Regions from separate parts of the Homo sapiens genome. Here regions 1 and 3 are each linked to region 2. Evidence: promoter capture Hi-C in 16 types of primary human blood cells and fetal thymus (Javierre and others, 2016). All regions are on one chromosome and are shown on one strand. The core of a region is centred on a gene start or on the middle of the fragment in contact, and the rest is flanking DNA. Distances in the headings are between cores, read along the strand shown.

Region 1 (2,614 bases), core at 1-2,500, 150 kb after region 2:
CCGGGACACGTCTGCTCCGCGCACACACAGTCAGTCGGTCCTGCCCGAAACGCACCAAGTCGCGCCCAGCGGCAACCGCCCTCCCTCCTCCCCTCGCCGCCCCCCTCCCGACTCCGGCGCCACGACTCCCTTGCGCCCCCTCCCCCCCACTGCACCACCTTTACCGCTCCGATCCTTTCCGAGGGGCTGATGTCACCAGCCCCCCCACTCTCCTCGGCCACTTCTCCCCGCCAAAGCCTCCCTTTGGCGAGGCCCCCTCCGCCACCACGGCGCCCCCCAGCGTCACCCCCTCCTCTCCTCGCCCCTTTCTTCCCCTCTTTCCCTCTCCCAACAAATCTCACACCCCACGGAGGCGGGTCCCCCTCCCTCTACCCGCCACCCGGTTTCCTGTCCCCGAAACCCTCTTTTTGTCGCAGTCTCCGGAGCCCCATGGGCTCCCCCTCCCCCTCCCCAACACGCACCCAAACCCCTGGCGTCGTGTAGGCCTCGCGGAAAAAGAGAGAAAGAGAGAAAGAGGGGGAGAGCGAGAGCGAGAGCAAGAGAGAGACACTGAGCGGGCAGGCCGGGGGAGGGGGACCCGCGCCCGCGTCGCCACGGCCCCCCGCCCCGTTTTTGAGCCCCCGCCCGGCCGAATCCGCGCCCCTGGGTCCCCCTTCCGGCCTCGCCCCCCACAGACAGAGCCCGCGAACGGGCGGGGGGCTCGGGAGCGCGCGCCCGGGGCGGGGGGCGGGCTCGGCGCGCGCGGCCTGCGGGGCGCCCTTCGAGGGCCCCCGGGCCGGGGCCGGCGCCCCCCGCCCGCCCTTACCCAGCAGCAGCAGGCGGTGCGTGGCCCGGTAGACCTGCTTGTCCTTCTGCAGCTGCTTCTCGATCTTTTTGTTGGCCTCACGCTGCGCCTTCTCCTCGTTGCGCTGGTCCTCGGTCTTACTGTTCCCGAGGCAGCCCATGGCGGCGGCGGCGGCGGCGGGGCGCGGCCGGGCTGCGGCGGCGGCGGGCGCGGGCGGCCTCACGCGGGCCGGGAGGGCCGGGGCAGCGCCGGGCGGGCGGGCCGGGCGCGGGCTCGGCTCCTCGGCAAGGAGCGCGCGGGGCGGACTGCGGGCCGCGGGCCGCGGGGCGCGCGGACGGGCGGGAAGGGGAGGGTGTCGGTCGGACCGAGGGGCGCGCGCAGCTCCCCGCCCCTCGAGCCGAGGCCGAGGGGGCTGATGGCCGCCGCCGGGCCGAGGCGGACCAGAGCAGGAGCTGCGGGAGCTGCTGCCGCCGCTGCCGCCGCCGCCGCTCTTATTGCCTCGGCCGGGCCCCCGCCGCCGCCCCGAGCCAAAAGCGCCGCGGCGGGCGGGGGGAGGCGGGGGGAGGAGGAGGCGGCGGCGGCGAGGGGGGTGGAAGGAGGAGGAGGAGGAGGAGGGCCGAGGAGCGGCCGCGGCGGCGGCGGCGGCTGGGAGGGCGGGAGCCGGCGGAGGGAGGCGGCCCCCCGGGAGCCCGGGGAGGGGGTCCCTCCGCCCGCGCCCGGCCGGGGACGGGACGGGCCGGGGAGACGCCCCCCACCCCCCGGGCTCGGGCAGCAGCCCGGCTGAGCCGAGGGGGGAGAGGGGGCGTCTCCGCGCCAGTGACGACCCCTCGCACGACGCCAACGCTCCACCCCCCGGACCGCGTCGCCCGGCGCCCCCGAGGCCTCCTCCCCCTCCCGCGGGCGCCGCCGAGGGGCTGGGGTGGGCGGAAGGGGAGGGAGCGCGCGCCCGGACTTAGGAAAATTTTCGAAAGAGCGAGAGACACAGAGAGCCAGAGAGCAGGAGTGTGGAAAAAGCGAGGCGAGCACGAACCAAAGGACAGAGCAACCGAAAAGGAAAATGTGTCCACACACACACACGAACACGAATAAAAACCCACACTACACAGCGATGGTGGTGTCTGGTGGCGGTGGCGGGGTGGGGGGTCTGACTAGATGAGCCGCTCCTCGCGCCCCCGGCGCCGGGCGCCATGGCCCGAGCCGAAGGCGCCTCTGGCCCCGGAGCGCCCGCGGCCTCTGCGCTTGGCGCGGCCGCCCAAGTAGGAGAAGAAGGCGCAGCCCAGGAACACTCGGAAGCAGCAGGTCGCCCCGAACACGAAGCCGCAGCCGCGGCCCTGCTCCGTGCGCTTCTGCAGCAGGAAGTTGAGCACCCACGAGGGGCTGCGCACCGAGAAGACCAGGAACACCACGAGGGGCAGGTGGGCGCTCAGCGCGCCAGCCTTGAGCGGCCCGGGCCGCCACACGATGCCCCCAACGCGCGGCGCCGCGTAGTAGGCGTCGTCCTCGTCGCTCGAGTCCGTGTCCCAGTCAGCCCAGGCCCTACTCGTGCCCCCGGCGGCGGCGCCCTCCTCGGCGCCCCCGACGGCGCCCTCCTCGGCGCCCTCGTCGTCGTCGGCGGCGGCCGCGGCGGCGGCGGCCTCGGGGCATCGGGCCTCCTCCTGGGCTTCTGGCACCTTCTTCTTCTTCTTCTTCAGCATCTTCTCCATCTTCTTCCTCTCCTTCTCCTTCTTCTTCTCCTCCTTTCGCCTCTGCTCCAGCAGCTTCTTCTCGAGCTTCTTGCGCTCCTTGTCTGTTAGGAACTTTTCGGGGAGCGCCTCCCGCGCCGGGTTCTTG
Region 2 (4,458 bases), core at 486-2,985:
ATGGTGAACAGCCTCATGGAACTCCAGGAATAGCAGGGACAGGCTGTTCTGTGCTGATGGTTCTTGAACCAGTGTTTTTAACACCCAGCGACGTTAACTGCATCTTAGTCAAGGCTGAGGTACTCTCAGTAGCCCTTAAAGCATTACCTCCCCAAGAAATCACTCTTAAGTACTGTAGGTTTAAAAAAAGAAAATCTCAGGTACCACAAATTGCACTTAGCAACTACCCAACCATATTATTTCCTTCCTGTCTAATGTAATTTTTGTTTTCCTGTATAAAGGACTTATGTTATTTTGAAAAATTATCCTCCCTCCTAAATTAACCTGGCTTTTTGTCTTTAACAATCAAACAAGCTAAGAACAAGAATGAGGTGGTCCTTCTAACAAGCTTCTAAGTAACTAGATGTAAAGATTTTCCTCCATAACCTTCATTGAAAATGGCAAATTGTTCTGTTAGGAGGTAGACGGCTGTGGAGAGTGCAGGAGAGCAGGGTGGGAAGCCATATTCTGAAAGCTAAGCCAGGCAGTCTGTTCCCTGGACAAGGCTCATCTCTGAATGAAACCACATGCCACCTCCTCCTGCCCCAGCAATTCTTAGTCATTCTTTCATCCATTGATGCAACAAATAATTGTCATTTAGGAAGGGGGAAATCACTGAACAAGTCTGGCAAGAGCCTCGCCCTCAGGGGCTTACAGTCTAGCGGAAGTTACAACAAATAAACTAGATGACTCCATTAATTCATTCATCCCACAAATAGCTATTGATTTTTTTCATTTTTCAATAAGTAGTCATTGAGCCTTGACTATATGGGAGACACTGAGGATGATTTTTGAGCAAGACCGGCAAGATTCTTGCCTTCAAGAACTCAGTTCGATTGTGAATTTTCACAAATAAATTAACAAGATGATGTCAGAGGGGTAAGTGCTATAAAAAATGCAACAGGATATTGTGACGGAGCAGAGCAACAAGGTGAGAAACGGTGACGAGGGAAGTCTCTCTGGGAGAGACATCTCAGCTCAGATCCATCCTATGCACCTAGGGCAAGGTGTGCCCGGCCAGGAAGCTTTTCTACCCGACCCCTGGCACCGTGCTTCCGGACCGCATCCCTCGTAGGGGTATTATTCATGGGCAGGTCTGATGTTAGCTTCTCCGCGTCACGCCTTATTTATCCCCTCCGAGGGCTGCAAGCTCCTGGCGGGCAGGTGGGACTGGCCCAGCTGATCGGCTGGGTGGCTGGTGGATTTGGGAAAACAGCCCGGGCTGACCCAGGAGGTGGCTGGAACTCTCTATAGGGCACCAGGAAATTTTGCACAAGTGACCACCACAACGAACATCTATGTCAGCAGGCTGACCGCATGCGTCCACACGCCTCGAAATGCCAGGCGAGGATGTGCTGGGCCAGAAGGACAAGGAGGGCCAAGCGGGCGCGCAGGCACCTCCTGGACCTGACCCAACTCTGCCCAGAGGTCAAGGCTCGCTACAAGCCCGCCGCGCCTGCGCAGCACAGCGCCCGCGCCGGCCCCTCCAGCTGCCGTCGGCGGCACTGCGCCGGCGCGATGCGCCCGGCGCTAAGAGGCGGGGTTTCCTTGCGCCGCGCGCAAGGCTGGGGCAAAACCCGGGCCGGGATAGGGCGTGGGGCCGCGCGTCTGGACGTCCCTCGCGTCGGGCCCGACAGCGCCTGCGCACTGCGCCGCCGGCTGGGGTGCTGGGGGCGGGGCAGGGGCAGGTGTAGCCTCTGTGCCTCGTTGTCCCCTGGCGCTACCCGGACATCTCTCAGGGTGCCGGCACCATGAAGATCTGGACTTCGGAGCACGTCTTTGAGTAAGTTTGGGGCGCGGGTCGGCTCCGTGGAGGGCAGGCACGCCGGCCCTGGAGTAGAGGCGAGGCAGAGGCGGCCCGCAGGAGGCTTCTAGGCGTCGGGCCTAGCGAGGGGAGCGAACTCTGAAGCCTGCGGGCCCCGGCGACACGGAGGGCAGACCAAGGTCACGACCCCGAGGCGCCCTAGCCGAGGGGACGGCTCCGACCTCCAGACCCAGGCGGCCTTGCGACCGGCAGGGCTACGGGGTCACTTCCGGGCTGTCCCCCACCATGAGGTAGCCTCGGGCCGGCGGCCTCCTGAGGTCCTGGGGGCGTCGCGGAGCACGAAGCCCTTGACAGCACTCAGGGTTGCCCCATCCCGCCCTGTGAAACCACTTTGGGACGTGGACCCGAGGATCCCAAGAGGGAGGTGTTGGTTTTCTCCAGAGTGTACTTTCCCTGGCCGCCGTTTGGGTGGAGTTTCTACCTTCGAATGTGAATTTCGGGTGAACTCTGACCACCAGGATGTGAAGCCTTTTCACAACTCGTTCATCTACGCAGCAGAGCCTTGGATTTGGAATTCAAGGTCTAGCTCTGGCTGTAACAAGCGTGTGACCCTGGGTTACCCATTTTCATCTGAGAGATGGAAAAGGACGATCGTCAGGGCCTACCCGTGTTAGCTCTTTGAGGCCACGTTCAGGAACATCTTTTTGGATAATGTGAACTGTTTACTAACGAAACTAAGCCTTGAACCAGTTGGATGTGGAGAATTATATTCTCTTCTAGGTCCCTGATTCCATTTACAAAAGAGCCACAAATTTAAGCAGCGAAATCCTTTTTTTTCCCGAGTTACCTGCTCTGTTCCGCTGATCTTAATGTCGTTGCCACACTGTTTTAATTAGTATAGCCTTGTAAATAAATATGCTACAAAGCCATTTATGTTTTTAAAACTGTCTCTGAAGGCAAATTTTTTTTAAATTTCTTTTTTGAGGCAGAGTCTCGCTCTGTTGCCCAGGCTGGAGAGTAGTGGCGTGTTCTTGGCTCACTGCAACCTCCGTCTCCCGTGTTCAAACGATTCTCCTGCCTTGGCCTCCCAAGTAGCTGGGATTACAGGCGCCCACCACCGCGCCCGGCTAATTTTTGTATTTTTAGTAGAGACGGAGTTTCACCATGTTGGTCAGGTTGGTCTCAAAGTGATTCGCCCTGGTCAGGTCGCACCTGACCTCAGGTGATTCGCCCGCCTTGGCCTCCCAAAGTGCCGGGATTACAGGTGTGGGCCACTGTGCCCGGCCTCTGAAGGCAACTTTTAAAACGTTGTCCGCATTTGTACTCAGTGGGACACATCCTAGGGCCTGCTGTATCCTGCAAAGTATAGAATACTGGAATCAGAAGGAAGCTTTCTTTTCCCCCTACTGTTTAGTCTTTTTGGGAGGAAAAAGACCCGAAATTTGTGGTCATTTAGATGTTCATTAACCTGGTCGCATTCATCACTAGTCCATTTCAGCTCCGAGGATGTTTAATTTCAGTCCTCTTCCAGGTTTGCATGCTTCAGTCCTCTTCTGGGTTTGCATGCTTCAGAGGTTCTCGGCACTCAGTCTCCCTAGAACTGTCTTCTCCCATATCTTCCCTAACTCTTCTTCCTGGCTCATCCCCTCCTTCCCTCTACACTCTTTCTGCCTTTGTCTTCAGCGCTTCCCTGTCTTTTCCCATTCAGTGTAAATGTTCAGTGAGATTCTGTGTTGGCCTTCCTATATTGGATTTTACCTGTGATCTTAATTTCTTTTTTGTTTCTCTTTTCGTCACAGACTTTTTTTTTGTCCTGGGAGAAGCAGCCCTGATCCGTGCTTTCTCCCCACATAATCTGAGCTGTTTGGTCAAAGTCCCAAATGATAGGTATACATTTATGGCACCCAGATCTGTACCTTGAGCTCCAGCCTCTCTTGAGCTCCGCTTTTCATTTTCAGGTGCCTGTTAGGCATTGCTACCCTCGTGTCCCACAGGCCCTTAAAACTCAGCCTGTCTGAAATTGAAGTCATCATCTCCCCTGACAAATCTGAGCGTTGTTTCTGATCTTTAGGATGTCACTCTCTAACAATGTCTAAGTCATCATTCTACATCTTATCTGTCTTTGATTTTCCAACACTTTTCTTCTGAGGCCTATAGTTGGCATCCAGGTGAAGTCATTCATTGATTCCTTCAACTTATAGAGATGCCCAGTATGTGTCAGCCACTGTTCTTTGGATTGATTACATTTTCATAAGTAAATCAAGACCTCGATGCTGCGCCAGTGGAGTTAATAATGTCCTCACCTCGTTTCAAAGGTGAAGAAGTTGGACCGGTCAGTGAGCCATAGCCAGGTCCTCCTGATTCTACTTTGGCGTGGTCTTTGAATGTCTTCCATTGTGAGATCTTTTCCACGTAATTATGTTAATACAGCTCAGATTAATTGCTGGAAGATTAATCATAATAAGTATTGTTTGTAATGTTTGAGCTGGTTATGGTTCATAAAGCAATCTTGAGCCAAGCTAAGTCAACATCAGTGGTTTCAAGTTGGTTCAGAAAGGAGAGATGGACTAAATTACAAATAATGCATAACCACCCTGAAGTCATGCGATTATTAATTTTTTAGAGAGGGTTGGGGGAAGAGGTAAGGGCATGGA
Region 3 (3,999 bases), core at 114-2,613, 180 kb after region 2:
GATAAGCATTATTCATTTTTTCCCCCTCAAATATCCCACAGCTTCAAACTTACCTGAATGCAGGTTCCCTGTAAAAATACCATCATGTAATTTGCACATTAGCAATCAGTTTGATGAATGGCAAAATCGTTCAAATGGAAAAGAGGAGAGAGATAGTGTGGTCTTTTGATGGAGGGGGAGAGGCAAGAGCCAGATAAATCAGAAGAGAGAGGCGAGGCTCTTGCAGCCCAAGTCTTAATTTCCTTGTAAGAATCGATGCTCACTCAGTGGTGACACTGAGCTTGTGAAAGCTCAACTGTGACACTCTTTAGAAAGTAGTACAGAGATTTTTTTCCTTCCCATTATCAACTCATTAAAGGAAGTTAAAAGTACTTACTCTGTCCCACACACAGTGTGTGTGTGACAATGTCGGAAACATTGACTGACTCATAATAAATTTGAGATTGGATAACAATTTATACTACCTTTATACCTCTCTCCTCGCCCCAAATTGAATCATTAAAAAACATTTAGTAAGATCCAATGTGCAGTTCTGTGGGCAGAACTCCACAAGTCAAAATACTCCTGAATTTAAATACTCCTGAGGTTTAACAAATTACTCTGCAATGCAATTTGGGATTTTACTCTAAGGAAGTACAACAGAGGCACACTCCCTTAATTTCCATTGCCCTGTCACAGATCAGTTGCCTAACATTCTTCCCATAGCATAGCTCCCAGTTGTTGCATGTAGAAAAGCGCTCCACTGATTCTAACTTGAAAGGTGTGTGACTCGTGTGTGCTCAAAGAGCATGTGACGATCAACATAATGAAAAGTCAAACATTGTTTTGTTGTGTTGTTCCCTACCTCTTTCTTGGAGGTCTCTTCATCTTCAATTCCCATGAGCTGGCCTGGTTCACCATCTGGCTGTTGGAAAGGAAACTAAACACATTTTCTTTCTTTCTTTTTTTTTTTTTTTTCATGTGTAATAACCATAGAACAATCCAAGCTCAGGTCCTTGAGCTCAGCCTCGGTATTGAGTTGATTTATAGTTAGGAGCTAATCAAAACAGAAGGGGGAGCTGGATAGGCAGGGGTGACAGGTGACACTTTTACAGGACAAGTCAAAAAGTAAGTTATCTCCTCATCTCTCTCTGGCACATCATTCACCTGAGAGTGACTTCACACAATTATAAATGTGGCAAGGTGGCATTCGTCTACTGCTTGAGTTGACCTTTATTTACAAAATGTAAACAAAGAATGTACTCTGAAAGGTGGAGACAGAAAGACAGAATGAGATGGCTGGCACTTTTAGAACTTACATGTTAATAGTCTAATGAGAAATGCAAAAAACAGAAAAACAAAGACACAAACAAAAAAAAAACCCAGCAACAACAGAAAACTAACCAAACCCAAAACCTCACTTGGAGCAGGGAGAAAAAAAAAAATCTAGGAGGAAAATAAATTTCTAAAATTAAAAGTCGAGGCTTGGTATGGTGGCTCACACCTGTAATCTCAGCACTTTGGGAGGCCAAGGTGGGCAGATCACCTGAGGTCAGGAGTTCAAGACCAGCCTGGCCAACATGGTGAAATCCCATCTCTACTAAAAAATATAAAAGTTAGCTGGGCATGCTGGCAGGCACCTGTAATCCCAGCTACTGGGGAGGCTGAGACAGGAGAATCACTTGAACCCGGGAGGCAGAGGTTGCAGTGAGCCGAGATCATGCCACTGTACTCCAGCTTGGGCGACAGAGTGAGACCCTGTCTCAAAAAACAAAAAACAACAAAAAGAACCCAAAAAACCCAAAACATGTTTTGGGGTACTTATATGTGCCAAGCACTGGGTTGAACATGTTACCCTTTAAAAAAGACTCCAGATTTCTCAAATTGTAACTGCTTCTAGTAGCTGGCCCTCTTTTTGGGGGAATTAAGAAAAAAAGGCCAGGTGCCATGGCTCACACCTGTAATCCCAGCACTTTGGGTGGCTGAGGCGGGCAGATCATCTGAGGTCAGGAGTTCGAGACCCGCCTGACCAACATGGTGAAACCCCGTCTCTACAAAAAATACAAAATTAGTGGGGCGTGGTAGTGCATGCCTGTAATCCCAGCTACTCGGGAGGCTGAGGCAGGAGAATCGCTTGAACCCGGGAGGCGGAGGTTGCAGTGAGACAAGATTGCACCACTGCACTCCAGCCTGCGCAACAAGAGCAAAACTCCGTCTCAATAAAAAAAAGAATATATCCTCTTTTTGAAATACCTCTCCTCTCCTTTGTTCAGGGGCTTCTTTCCCCCAATTTATATTCGTGCCTTCCTTCCAGTCTCTAAATTGCATAAAGGCCACTTAGGACTTGCAGACTTTTCAGCAGAACTCCCAAAGAGAGGCTCAGGTCCATTCTCCTCTTCCTTCCTAAAGAGAACATGATCTTATGCTTAGGGTGACCACAGGCCAGAACAGGAATCTGATGGGAACAAAAGCTCCATTCAGTCTAATTTAATGAAATCTGTGAAGGTGCGTGTTAGGGCCAGAGTCTCCTAGTCCCTATTCCAAGGGGTCAGAGATGGTCAATTAGGCTGCCCAGTGCTTTTAGTTCCCTCCGTTGACTTGTCTTAATTGATGGTGAGGACCTTGTGACATCAATTGGCCCTGTCCCTTCTCTCTTGAAAATTGCTACTCCTCCTGAGAAATTTGATTTTTAAATGGGCAAATGGCGTGAGTGGGTTTGAGAGGAACCTCACATTTGCTACTACAGCTAAAAGAAACCAAGAAGTGTAGAAACGAATTGTTGTTCACTACTGATGTGTCTCCTGAGAGTTATTTAGAGGCATTTGAAGAGCCACAATTTTGCTGGGGTTGGGGGTAAGTTTTATTTGGAGGAAAAACTAACTCTAAAAAGAAGAAGGAGCATGGCTGCCTTTGGGAATTTCAAATCTAGGTTACCTTCTCTAAAAATAAATTTATGTTTTGCTTAATACTAACCTTCCTGGCTGGGCACGGTGGCTCATGCCTGTAATCCCAGCACTTTGGGAGGCCAAGGTGGGCAGATCACCTGAGGTCAGGATTTCCAGACCATCCTGGCCAACATGGTGAAACCCCATCTCTACTAAAAATACAAAAAATTATCCAGGTGTGGTGGTGCATGTCTGTAATCCCAGCTATTCGAGAGGCTGAGGCAGGAGAATCCCTTGAACTGGGAGGCAGAAGTTGCAGTGAGCCGAGATAGTACCACTGCACTCCAGCCTAGGTGACAGAGCGAGACTCCATCTTAAAAACAACAACAACAACAACTAACCTTCCTGCATAAAAGTCAAAGGTGATTTCTAAGACCACGCACTGACTCTTGCTAAATGGAAATTAGCCTGGACTAGAAGTAAGGCATACTTTTAAAAAAAAATCACTACAAAGACTATGGAGCAGAGTTATTTTGATAAGATCATGAGATCCAGACCAGGATTCTAAACATTCTAACGCTATACTTATAATAGAGCTATGCAGAAAAGTAACTGCATTTTATTATTATAATGATTAATTATTATTTAGTGGAAACCTAAACAAGAAGAAAAGCTTTAGACCCTGCAAAAAAACAAAACAAAACAAAACAAAAAAACCAAAAAACTTTTAAAAAAACCTGCATTTAAAAAAAAAAAAAGGAAAACAGTAGCCCAACAAACTAAGACTGCAACGTTGCAGTGCTGGCAGATGAGTTAAAGCAAATGTGTAAATGAAATATTACCAAAGCAATGACAGCCATCTCAGAAATGGGGGAGCTCATGTTTCATGTATACTCAATGGACATTTATAACCAGGGATCTGTGCGTTTTGCTATAATTCAGAAAGTAGCAGACTACTCGACACGTGTCATTTGGCAAGGGATTTTAAGAGCACATAGTATACTTAGAATAATCATGCTTTACATTTAAATAATGCTTTATAGCTTATCATCACATTTCTGGTAAGCATTATCTGAATTTGAAATTTGTGATCCTTTACCTACCTTGCAGTCTTTGAGTAAAAGTGCCTTATGGC

The links. Contacts are between HindIII fragments. The CHiCAGO score rates a contact against its expected background, and 5 or more counts as called.
Region 1: a contact is called between the fragment with the promoter of GNAS here and the fragment with the promoter of PRELID3B in region 2, in 10 of 17 cell types (naive B cells, erythroblasts, total B cells and 7 more). The highest score is 8.0, in naive B cells.
Region 3: a contact is called between a fragment that was not itself captured here and the fragment with the promoter of PRELID3B in region 2, in 4 of 17 cell types (total B cells, naive B cells, naive CD8 T cells and 1 more). The highest score is 7.1, in total B cells.

Annotation. Positions count from the first base shown.
Region 1 is chr20:58,890,057-58,892,670 of GRCh38, reverse strand. GNAS (GNAS complex locus) reads right to left here and starts at 1,250. Exons shown (of 13, transcript NM_000516.7): 1 at 806-1,250. The coding sequence starts at 944. RefSeq lists silencers at 93-182, 1,053-1,272, 1,283-1,782, 1,843-1,992. The HindIII fragment of the contact is 29,581 bases long and covers 1-2,614 here.
Region 2 is chr20:59,040,063-59,044,520 of GRCh38, reverse strand. It overlaps PRELID3B (PRELI domain containing 3B), which reads left to right and starts at 1,735. Exons shown (of 6, transcript NM_016045.3): 1 at 1,735-1,822. The coding sequence starts at 1,791. SLMO2-ATP5E (SLMO2-ATP5E readthrough) reads left to right here and starts at 1,675. Exons shown (of 6, transcript NR_037930.1): 1 at 1,675-1,822. RefSeq lists a silencer at 1,418-1,817. The HindIII fragment of the contact is 2,130 bases long and covers 1,067-3,196 here.
Region 3 is chr20:58,859,921-58,863,919 of GRCh38, reverse strand. LOC101927932 (a long non-coding RNA gene) reads left to right here. Exons shown (of 5, transcript NR_126334.1): 5 at 1-164. It also overlaps a transcript of GNAS not described here. Among named protein-coding and RNA genes, the nearest start is that of GNAS, 30 kb to the left of the region's middle. The HindIII fragment of the contact is 4,352 bases long and covers 1-3,539 here.